Regions from separate parts of the Homo sapiens genome. Here region 2 is linked to region 1. The links are contacts of gene promoters, found by promoter capture Hi-C in blood cells and fetal thymus (Javierre and others, 2016). All regions are on one chromosome and are shown on one strand. The core of a region is centred on a gene start or on the middle of the fragment in contact, and the rest is flanking DNA. Distances in the headings are between cores, read along the strand shown. Region 1 holds the start of ZC3H13 (zinc finger CCCH-type containing 13). Region 2 overlaps LOC107984619 (a long non-coding RNA gene).

What was found. The method cuts DNA at HindIII sites, captures the fragments that hold promoters and counts their contacts. A CHiCAGO score of 5 or more calls a contact.
Region 2: a contact is called between a fragment that was not itself captured here and the fragment with the promoter of ZC3H13 in region 1, in 1 of 17 cell types (total CD8 T cells). The highest score is 5.1, in total CD8 T cells.

Annotation. Positions count from the first base shown.
Region 1 is chr13:46,051,250-46,057,197 of GRCh38, reverse strand. ZC3H13 (zinc finger CCCH-type containing 13) reads left to right here and starts at 4,452. Exons shown (of 19, transcript NM_001330564.2): 1 at 4,452-4,794. It overlaps CPB2 (carboxypeptidase B2), which reads left to right. Exons shown (of 11, transcript NM_001872.5): 10 at 1,349-1,436; 11 at 3,400-4,012. The coding sequence ends at 3,584. CPB2-AS1 (CPB2 antisense RNA 1) reads right to left here and starts at 4,350. Exons shown (of 3, transcript NR_046227.1): 1 at 4,233-4,350. RefSeq lists enhancers at 4,287-4,486, 4,497-4,666, 4,196-4,731, 4,732-5,268. The HindIII fragment of the contact is 2,282 bases long and covers 3,537-5,818 here.
Region 2 is chr13:44,911,159-44,916,680 of GRCh38, reverse strand. All of the region lies in intron 1 of LOC107984619 (a long non-coding RNA gene), which reads left to right. Among named protein-coding and RNA genes, the nearest start is that of TRE-TTC2-1, 4.1 kb to the left of the region's middle. The HindIII fragment of the contact is 1,285 bases long and covers 888-2,172 here.

The DNA of each region.
Region 1 (5,948 bases), core at 3,203-5,702:
TGATTTGGGAAGTAGAATTAGTCTAATTATGCTTTTTTTTTTTTGCATCACTGCCAGCACACATATATGTTGAGAGCCATTACGTGTAAAATACCTTGTCAATGGATGTTTAAAGAAGCATTAGGTAAAATCCTGCCCTTTAAGAGAATGTGTTATGGTTAGGGAGCTCAACCATTAGCAAATGTTACAAATAGTTGTACTCTAAGGCGACATAGAGTAACTACTAAATACGTGGCACAGACAGTACAACTCACTTCTAACTAGAATATCAAGGGATGGCTTCACTAATGCATTCAGAGGGAAATGCTGAGATAAGTGAGGAGATAAAGTAGTTACTGTCCTTGAGGAATTTACAATCTATTAAGGGGGGGAAAAACTACAAATAATAAAGTGCTGTTGATGTCAAAGATCAGCTACATTTTAGACAGGCATTGAAAGAGGATTTCTATAGGCAGACAGGGAAGGAAGGACCTTCCAAGCAAAGAAGTTGGTGTTCACCATAAGAGGATGCAAAAGTGGAGGGTGATAGCATCAGAAAGTAGATTAGGTTGGCTTCTGAAGGGGTGTGACTGTCAGATAAATTTGTATTTCATTATGTAGACAATGGGGTTACATTAAAACTTATTTTTTGAACAATGAGATGGCATAAAATAATATCCGCTGATAAATCTCTTGAGTTTTTCAAGAAGGTGACAGTGTATACCATGATGCTAGTTCCAATTTCCGAAAAGTTCCAGATAAGTGAGAACTTCAGAATAGATTTGACAAAATGAATATCAACAGACAAAATGAAGTCAAATGGGGGTCTTAGTTATTATCCTGCTCCATACCAGAGGCATAATCTTTTTTGATTTGATGAATCTATGGAAGTCATTAGACATTTTACACAAGAAGAAAATAGAAGTTGTGAGAAGGATAAGAAGTGAGTCATGCATGCATTAGGTGTTTGTATGTGTTTAGAAAGGTTGGATTTAAAGTTTGGTGATAATTTTGTTCAGAAATGGAGTACCTCTAAGCCTTTGAGATGTAGTTATACTTCATTTTCCATAATAAATGAGTTCCCAAAAAGGCATGTGATAATTTTTTTCTGCAAATTAATATATTTATTTATATAAATTATTTCAATATATTGAAATAGTTTATGTTTAAAGCCACCCAATTGTGATTGCCATAAAGTGCACATATTTTAAATTAATTTGTTTACCTTATTTATTTGCCTTTTAGATGAATCTAGATTTTCTACCTGTATACTTTGATTCAATTAATGTATGATTATTTTTTAGAAACTTCTACTTGTCATGTTTCAAAGCTGCACATTAACTGAAATTCTATATCTTGTTGCTTCCAGTCTCTAGTAGCCAGTGAAGCAGTTCGTGCTATTGAGAAAATTAGTAAAAATACCAGGTATACACATGGCCATGGCTCAGAAACCTTATGTAAGTATTTCTTCTTATGATCTTAGAGAACTTTGAGCTACTAAAGAAATCTGTGTGATCTGTTTTTCTTTGTGTATTTAATTTTTCTGAATTAAATAGGGTCACATGTAATACAACTGAATTGTAATAATTAGGAACAGAAGCATAATAGCTATGACAATGCTGAACAAAGCTATATTAATAAATGAGTTACTAAAAAGAAGCCAAAATCCTATTTAAGAAATCATATTTATCACAATCAAGTAGGAATTACAGAATTGGCATCATACTAGTTGAGTGAAGCAGAAAAGTTCATAAAACTTTTGCATGATTCCCAGGGCCACCATGGAAGGTTGTGCAGGTTGTACACTACACTAATCTAGGGCATGCCATTTGCATCAAGTGTTTTTTAGTGTTAGCCTGTTCCCAAGAGTATAGCTCATAACACATTACAGTTGATTGTCTTTAATATATATTACACACACAAAACTTGTGACAAACTCTTAACAAAAAGTTTTGATTAATTTTTGCTGAAAGATATTTAGTGAGTAACTCCTATCTACACACAGTGGGAGGACAGACTGATTTTGCCCTTTTGAAGTTTGAAGGGAGATGGGAAAAGAGGAGCATAAAATAAACCTGTAACCAGGCATCAGAAAACTACAGCCTGAAGGCCAAATCCAGGTTTTTCCTTTTTTTTTTTTTTTTAATGATTAGAAAAAAACAAAAAGAGGCCAGGTGCTGTGGCTCATGCCTGTAATACCAGCACTTTGGGAGGCTGAGGCAGGAGGATCACTTGAGGTCAGGAGTTCGAGACCAGACTGGCCAACATGGTGAAACCCTGTCTCTACTAAAAATACAAAAATTAGCTGGGCATGGTGGCAGGCGCCTGTAATGCCAGCTACTTGGTTGGCTAATGCATAAGAATTACTTGAACCTGGGAGGTGGGGGTGGCAATGAGCTGAGATTGTGCAACTGCACTCTAGCCTGGGTGACAGAGTGAGACTCCATCTCAAAAAAGGTCGAAACTGTATTTATCATGAACACTAAAATATGTACACATTTTAGTTAACATGCATTAAACTGTAACAAGTCTTCTGGCAATTGTAGCTTTCATGAGATGCTTCCCAAACTGTATTAGATAGATGCTAAAATTATAAATTAAAATTTTGGGTCAGACTTTGCCATAAACCTGGACTCAATTTAGCACCCCCCCAAAAAAAGTCAGATTATTCAATTAATGCGGTTGGAAAACCTAACAAGTTACCTAGAAAAAAATTAATTGGATTATTAACATGTCTTTCACCAAAGTAAATTCCAGGTACAGCATATATTTTCATATGAAAACCCTGCATAAACCAAGTTGAAATCTCAGTAAGGAGAAAAAATTCTTGTGAAAGGAGAAATGAATGAAAGGAGAAAAAAAGGTCTACATGCCAAACAAAGCTAATAACACTAATGTCGTTTTTATAAGCAATTGATAAAATGAACCAAGTAGACAAATGAGGAAGGACAATTGATAGGAAATATAAAGATAGCCAATAAATATGCCAAACAAATGTGCAACTCACTGATAATCAAAAAACATAAATTAAGACAGTTGGATATTATTTTTCGCCCATAAAATTATCAGAATTCATAATTCCTATTGATGGTATGGGAAGGGGAAATGGGCAAATTCATACCCTGCTTGTGGAAGTATAAATGAATTCAGTTCTTTTGACGTCCATTTGGGAACATGCCGTAATTGCAAAAAGTACAGAGCCTTAGACTAGCAAATCTATTCTAGGGAAGAATATTCTAAAGAGACAAAGAAGCAATTATGTATAAACAAGGGTACTCATTGTAAAGTTGTTTATATTAGTTAAAAACTGAAAAAAATCTAAAGGTATACAAACAAATAAACATTTAAATCAAACAATTCCCAGTTTGTAAATTAATTTGAAACGTCTGTATTTCAACAATTTCTTTCTTCTTCTTTTAGACCTAGCTCCTGGAGGTGGGGACGATTGGATCTATGATTTGGGCATCAAATATTCGTTTACAATTGAACTTCGAGATACGGGCACATACGGATTCTTGCTGCCGGAGCGTTACATCAAACCCACCTGTAGAGAAGCTTTTGCCGCTGTCTCTAAAATAGCTTGGCATGTCATTAGGAATGTTTAATGCCCCTGATTTTATCATTCTGCTTCCGTATTTTAATTTACTGATTCCAGCAAGACCAAATCATTGTATCAAATTATTTTTAAGTTTTATCCGTAGTTTTGATAAAAGATTTTCCTATTCCTTGGTTCTGTCAGAGAACCTAATAAGTGCTACTTTGCCATTAAGGCAGACTAGGGTTCATGTCTTTTTACCCTTTAAAAAAAATTGTAAAAGTCTAGTTACCTACTTTTTCTTTGATTTTCGACGTTTGACTAGCCATCTCAAGCAAGTTTCGACGTTTGACTAGCCATCTCAAGCAAGTTTAATCAATGATCATCTCACGCTGATCATTGGATCCTACTCAACAAAAGGAAGGGTGGTCAGAAGTACATTAAAGATTTCTGCTCCAAATTTTCAATAAATTTCTGCTTGTGCCTTTAGAAATACAACCATGCATTCCGTTTGCTCCACGGTAATTAGGCGATGGCCCAGAAAGGGGAGGGGTGTCAAAAACGACAAACATAGCCTCTCATTCCAGCTCAGCTGCTCAATAAACACTGTTGAACGAATGAATGAGTGGCTCTAGGTACTGTCAACAAATGCCGCATTTTGCGCATTTACAACAGCTGTTTATGGTAAGGAATTATGTAATAAAAAGAGAAAACTCACTTAAATTCACTTTTAATTGGGAATTTTAGTTCTCCCGGGCTCCCAGTTTCCTTTCCTAGGATCTCTCACAGAGCACAGATTCGATTTCCAAGTCCCGCCGCACTCTTACCGCTCGCATGGAACCTTACGCCTAGAGGGCGTGTCCACGAAGGGTGGTGTCTGCGCACTGACGACTAATCTGACGGCCGGAAGCTGCCTGGGTCTACAGAGGAACAGGGCAAACCTCTGACTTCCGGCGGCATTTTGAGGCGGTCCTCCTAGCGGCCTGGTAGTGTTTTTGTTGCCTTTTCTTAATCTACAATCTCTTCGTTATTTTTCTTCCTGCGACCCAGTTTCGCTTGACCCTGGAGAGGCGGCGGGCGGGTTGGTTCTGCTTCTCAGCCATCCCGGGGGCTCCTCGCTAGCCAAGAGCCGGTTCCCGGGAGCCGCGCGCGCATCGCTTTCTCCTCGTCGTCGTCCTCCTGGGTCCAGGCGCGGGGACAGAGTCGCCTCCCCCGCTCCTCGGAGCGGCGGCGGCGGTGGTGCCTCCGGACTGCACTTGCGAAGGGAGCTTGGGGAGGAAGTAAGCGTTCTGTGAATTGGTGTGGGTATCTGGGGAAGGCATTGAGCGGACCCGTAATGCGGAGGCCCGGGTTACCCCCCCCCGTCTTTGCTTGAGTCACTGGGATTTTGAGCTTTCCTTGAGCATCCCACCCTTAACTCTGCAATAGCCCCCTGTGCTCAGGCGTAATTTCTCACTCTGATTATGATTCTGGCATTTGTCTAAGGGCGATAAGTAGACTCAGACAATAGGCTGTACCCCTCGTTACCATTTGATGTAAGCACGGGAACCCTTGTATGGTGTTCGTATTTGTGTGCGATGGAAGGGTGCAGCAATTTGGGCTTAAATTTAGAATCTTCCTCTATACTCATTCCAGATCTGTTAGAGAAAAACATCTTACTTGTGATTGGTCTTGTTTTTTTTTTTTTCCCTCAGCAGTGATAACGATTTAGGTCCTGGGAATTGAGTGCTACTTTATCTTCACAAGCCTTAGGTAGGTAGTTTTGGCAACTGTCAGAAACGGGGGAAAGTGGAATAGAAAGAAGAGAGTCTGTTTGGCGGCATTATCTCTCTGTAATAGGCTAACGCAATTTATGTGGTTTGAAAATTATTTAGAGTTGATAATACTTGAATTATGTTGGTAAGATGTTGTTTGTGAAGGGTAGTCTTAAGGTATTTGGTTATACTATGGGGCTTTCAGGTAATTCGAACTACTTTGAAAATTATGGGAGTATGAAGTCTCTTAAGATTTTTGGATTTTTAAAGTAGTTTTAAAAATTTGGAAAACATCTTTACACCTCAAGTTTTCGAAGTCCGCGATACCGTTGGAGAATAAATACTTATGCAGTTCAGTCTATGGGTATATGGTGCCAGTTAGCGGGGTCTAGTTCTGTAACATTTGAAATTACTGGCTTTAGTACAATATATTGGAGCGTTTTGTGAATACAATCTATAGATTTTCAAATAATTTTTATTTTCTTAATGAACTATTTAGATTATAACAGATGACAGTTTCAACTAGAGACTAGCAAAGTTGATGCAAGCTTGTAACAATTGCGGCTTTAAAAATAGTTGCACTCTGAAACTAAGGCTTTCACTCTGTGCATCTGGTAGGATTCAGTTTTATCAAATGTATGCCTCTTACTGGCTTCCTGATTACTGGTCATTCTAAATGA
Region 2 (5,522 bases), core at 281-2,780, 1.1 Mb after region 1:
CCTCAGCCTCCCGAGTAGCTGGGGTTACAGGGGCCCACCACCATGCCCAGCTAATCTTGTATTTTTAATAGAGATGGGGTTTCCCCATGTTGGTCAGGCTGGTCTAGAACTCCTGACCTCAGGTGATCCACCCACCTCGGCTTCCCAAAGTGCTGGGATTACAGGCGTGAGCCACCGCACCGGGCCTATTTTTATTTTTTGATTATTATTTTAGATTATTTTACTCTCAGATGATATTATTATCCCTGTATCAATCGCGGCCCTGTAGGAAACTCGTGATATATTCTTAGCAGAGTGCTTAATCAAGGATTATTTAAGTTTTTCTTAGGGTTTAGGGAAACAAGAAGGGGTAATGCAGCTCTCACAGCTCCTGAGCCTAAGGGGCAAGGCCAGGGAGGATAGCTGATGCCGGGGGCTGCCAGGCAGAAGCTGTGTAGTTTTTGTTTGTTTTAAACTTGTTTTTAGGCCAGGGGCAGTGGCTCATGGCTATAATCCCAACACTTTGTGAGGCCGAGGTGGGAGTATCACTCGAGCAGGAATTGGAGACCAAGACCAGCCTGCACAGCGTAAGGAGACACCGTCTCAAAAATAAAAAAATAAAAAAAAAAAAAAAATTTGCCAGGCAGTGGTGCGTGCCTGTAGTCCTAGCTGCTCAAGAGGCTGAGGTGGGAGGATCGCTTGAGGCCAGGAGTTCGAGGCTGCAGTGAGCTATGATTGCTGCTGCACTCCATTCTGGGCTAGTGAGATCCTGTCTCCAAAAAGCAAGACAAAACTGCTTTCAGATGGCAGGTGAATTCCATTTATATGAAGGCTGTCATGTCTACTCATCCTATTAATCATTCATTTTCATAAAATAGAGTTTTGACCTCATGGATTTGACAGAAGCTTTCTTGAGATGGCTGTAATATTTGGTGGACTCAGAGCATAGTAGATATTTCTGAAGACAGGTACTTAATGATATGAAAGGGTTTCACTTTGTGGGGAGATGGTTACTTCAGTTATATTTGGCATTTTTATGGCTTTCCCTTTTTGTAAAACATTTTGCCATAACTTCCATTCATCATCCTCATAGTCTTTAGATTCATAGACTATTTGAGCTGGAAAGGCCCTTAGCAGTCGTTTAACTTAGACCCTCGTTTTACCCGGGAAACATCTATTCTGAGATTTTATTTCTCTGATTCCCTAGTATTGGACTTTAGATTGTATCCACAAAAGATTGAATTCCTGTCTGGTGCTCTAGCCAGACACCACTCTCTCCAAATCCTGGCGTCAAGGAGCGGGGCTTAGGGGGATTGAGTGCAGAGAAGATTCAATTATTTTTATTTATTTATTTATTTATTTATTTATTTATTTATTTATTTATTTTGAGATAAGGTCTCCCTCTGTCACCCAGACTGGAGTGCAGTGGCGCGATCTCAGCTCACTGCAATTTCTGACTCCTGGGTTGGAACGATTCTCGGGTCTCAGCCTCCTGACTAGCTGGGATTTTAGGTGTGCGCCACCGCACCCAGCTAAGTTTTATGTTTTTAGTAGAGATGGGATTTCACCATGTTGGCCAGGCTGATCTTGAATTCCTGACCCCAAGTGATCCGCCTGCCTCAGCCTCCCAAAGTGCTGAGATTACAGGCGTGAGCCACCGTGCCTGGCCAAAAAAATATTCTCTTGTATTTTTGGTCAGTGTTCACAGCATAGCTGCATAAACATAGTAGTAATTTTTCTACGTGAAGTTTTTTTTTAAAAAAATTCATCATATATAATCATTTCTAGAAAGTGATGAGCTTAACCTGTTTGGGGTATTTGAACTAACCATGTGTTCCTGTATGCTTTCATTTTTGCATATAGTCATAAACTCTGATGGATTCCACATGAAAATTGCTTTGTGCCCCTCAACAAGTGTATTTATAGTCATGCAGATTCATATGTATGTTCCCTCAGAGTATATCTGATGCCGCATGCAAAAATATCCTAAATAATTACATTAACACTTCATATATTAATATGAAAGCAAATATGAATTTTAACTCACCCACACTGTAAAGCTGAATAACTTGGAAAAACACTGACTACTTGGAAAATCACTGGAACAAATAATCAAAAAATCAATTTGCAAACTTCTAGAAGACCACAGGGCACTGGGTAATCATCCCACATTACTTTGTGAAAAACAAAGCTTATCAGATGAATCTAATTTCCTTTTGTCGCAGAGTGACAGCCATGGTAGATGGGGGAGCAATCAACATAATCTATCCTGATTTAAGAAAGCTTGGGATTTTGCAACTTGTTGTGTACTCATTAAGAAAATGTAGGTATGGCCGGCATGGTGGCTCATGTCTGTAATCCTAGCACTCTGGGAGGCCGAGGTGGGTGGATAGCTTGAGCTCAAGAGTTCCAGGCCAGCTTGGGCAAAAAAGCGAGACACCCTCCCAACCCCGGCACCGTCTTCTACCCCTCCCCGCCGCCCGTCTCTACAAAAAACACAAATCGCTTCCTCCTGCCCCTCGTCTCTACAAAAAACACAAAAAAATAGCTGGTGGTGCACGCCTGTAGTCCCAGCTACTCAGGAGGCTGAGATGGGAGAATGGCTTCAGCCTGGAAGGTAGAGGTTGTAGTGAGCCGAAATCGCACCACTGCACTCCAGCCTGGGAGACAGAGCCAGACTCTGTTTCAAAAAAAAAAAAAAAAAAAAAAAAAAAAGAAAGAAAGAAAGAAAGAAAATGTAGGTAAGACTATTCCTGTTTCATAGGGATACAGTCAAACTGAAGTTGGGGGCTCAGCTTTATGCAAATAGGCAACTTCAACACAGTATGTGCAAAAGTGACCTCTTTCTCCTTCCCAAGTCCTTTTCTACTTGGATTACTTATTTTTTAGTGTCATCCAAGATCTCCTTGTTTGAGTTACTTAATCTCTCTGTTCCTCAGTTTTCTAGAATCTAACGTGGGGATAAGAATGGGACCTACTTCATAGGGTTGTGAAGATTAAATGACATAATGCGCATAAAAGGCTTAGCCCAGTTTAAGGCCATCACCGTCATCATCATCACCATCATCATCATTGTCATCATTGGCATGTTTAGTCCCTCTTTCTCCTCCACTCGCACCACGTCTAATTAAAGCTTATTTTATTTTACTATTTATTTATTTTATTATTTTATTAAATCTTATTTCTACCTCTTCAGTTATGCTCACATATATTCTTATCTACTTCCCTGGCCACTCTGCTGGTTTAAATCATCTTGTTCTCTGGACTATTGCAATAGGCACCACACTGGTTTCCCTGACCCCATCTTGCCCATCTTCTCTATCTTGCATTCTCCTGGCTGTTACAGCGCAGAGCTGAACATGCTGCTTCCCTGCCCTAAACCCGAAGAGCTTTGTCTTGCTGAGTGCTCCCAATCTGCCTTTGCAGCCTAATTCCTACCTCTTCCCTCCATGTATCCTAGATTCCTGTTAATTTCACACTGTTTCCTGTATCTGGCCTTTACTCAATTTTTCTTCTACTTGAGACGCTCTTATGCCCTTTCTCTAAATATCTACATCTTATCCATCCTTTAAGGCTCAATTCGAACATCACATGGTTCCTATAGCTTCCCTTACCTCTCCTGTGGATGCTGGTTGCTTCTGATTCCCATGGCATCTTGTGTACTTCTCTTCCTATACTTACTCCTTTCTAAAGTTAGGTCCTAGCTTAGATGTCATTTCTGCCCTGACTGTGGGTGAGATGCTTTCTCTGCACATTTCCCTCTCATTGCATTTACCACACTTGTTGTGGCCCTGCTAGATTTTACTCTCCAAGGCCAGTGCCGTGCACACAGTAAACACTTAATAAGCATGTGTTGAAGGATGTGTGAGCAGGACAAGGACTTTATTGATTGGAATACCTTAAGTTTCAAGTTACAGAAAGCCATTGGAACTCCACTAGGGGAGGATTGTTGGCTAATGTAACCAAACTGTGTGAAGTAGAATGGGATGGCTGGCCTTGGGGACAATCAGAATCAGTGTTTTCTCTCTGTGTGTCAGATTTATTCTTAGCTATCATGGACCAACTGCTTCCACATGGCAAGGGATCTGGGCACTCTGGCTCAGTACTCATTCCTCCCAGCTTCCCCACCCGAGAAGGAAGGTCTTTCTTAGTTTCTGTTGGAAAGTGCTGGGGGAATGTGACCTCGCCTAGGCCCTGGGCCCTGCCTAGGGTTGATGAATATGGGGTATTATGATTGGCAGCTCCTATTAGAACCACAAGGTAGAGAGGAAGGATGAACTGGTATTAAAGTTAAGCCAGAGAAATTAAAATAGTGGTAGTTTAACATAAAGAGTGGTGATTTACCATATTTACAAGGTTGCACAACTTTGTAAACATACTAAAAAGCCCTGAATTGTAAAAGACTGAATTGTATGGAATCTGAATTATATCTCAATTAAGAAAAAATTAAGCCAGAGATGAAATCTTGCTGGCAAAAATAAGCATTTCTATATTCTTTATATTTGGGCTATTCATGTATTCAGCAAACATTTACAGTGTGTCTAGTATGTGCTGGCAGTTATCTAGATTTACACTGTAGTGGGAAATAGCACACGCACAAACACACAAAAAGGGTAAGAGGGTTGGATTTCATTCTAAATGTGATGGGAAAGCTCTGGAGGTTTAGGGGTGGAGAGAGGTCCACCCCCTGGATGAGGACCTTCTGGACTCTAGGGCCTTCTGGCTGGTGCTCTGCTGTGGTCAGCACAAACCACACCTTGGAAGGAAGATGAGACTGTTTTAAGAGGTCTCTTGAGATGGATTCCAGAACCCTCATTTTCAGAATTTGGCAATTTTGTCCTAAAATAAAGTTTTCCTTGTGGACTAACCCAGATCACAGTATGCTTTGCTTTAAGGCTATTTGCCCAGATTTAGCAAATCTGCAATATTTGAGGGCACAGTTTCAAGACTGCCCTCACTTCTAACACCAACTGCAAGTTTGGGGGAGTTTCCAATACCACCCTCAGGTTTGATGATGTTCTAGAAAGATTCCAATAACTCAGTGGAAGCTGCAATATTCACAGTTATGGTTTACTGCAGGGAAAAGACAGAGACTGAAATCAGCCAAAGGAAGGGACAGAGTCTGGGAGGGTTCTAACTGCAAAACTTCTGTTGCCCTCTTTCCATGTGGAGTGTGTGGGCCCTCCTGATACTAATGTGTGACAAGATACATGCAGTATTGACAACCAGGGAAGCTCACCTGAACTTTGTTATCCAGAGTTTTTATTGGGGCTTCATTATGTACGCATGATTGATTGATTGTCTGTGTGATTGAACTCAGCCTCCAGCTTGAGTGATACCATGTGACACAAAGCCCCCACTCTAAGGCACATGGTTGGTCTTTCTAGCACGACTACCTCCCACCCTAAGACTACTGAGTATGGCCAGCCCCACCCTACAATCTGAAGGGATCAGCCCCTGCCTTAAACAAAGATCCTCCTATGAGAAATGACATAGATTTCATCCCAGAAGATGAAGGCAAAGGCCAGACCTCTCTTTGGGCA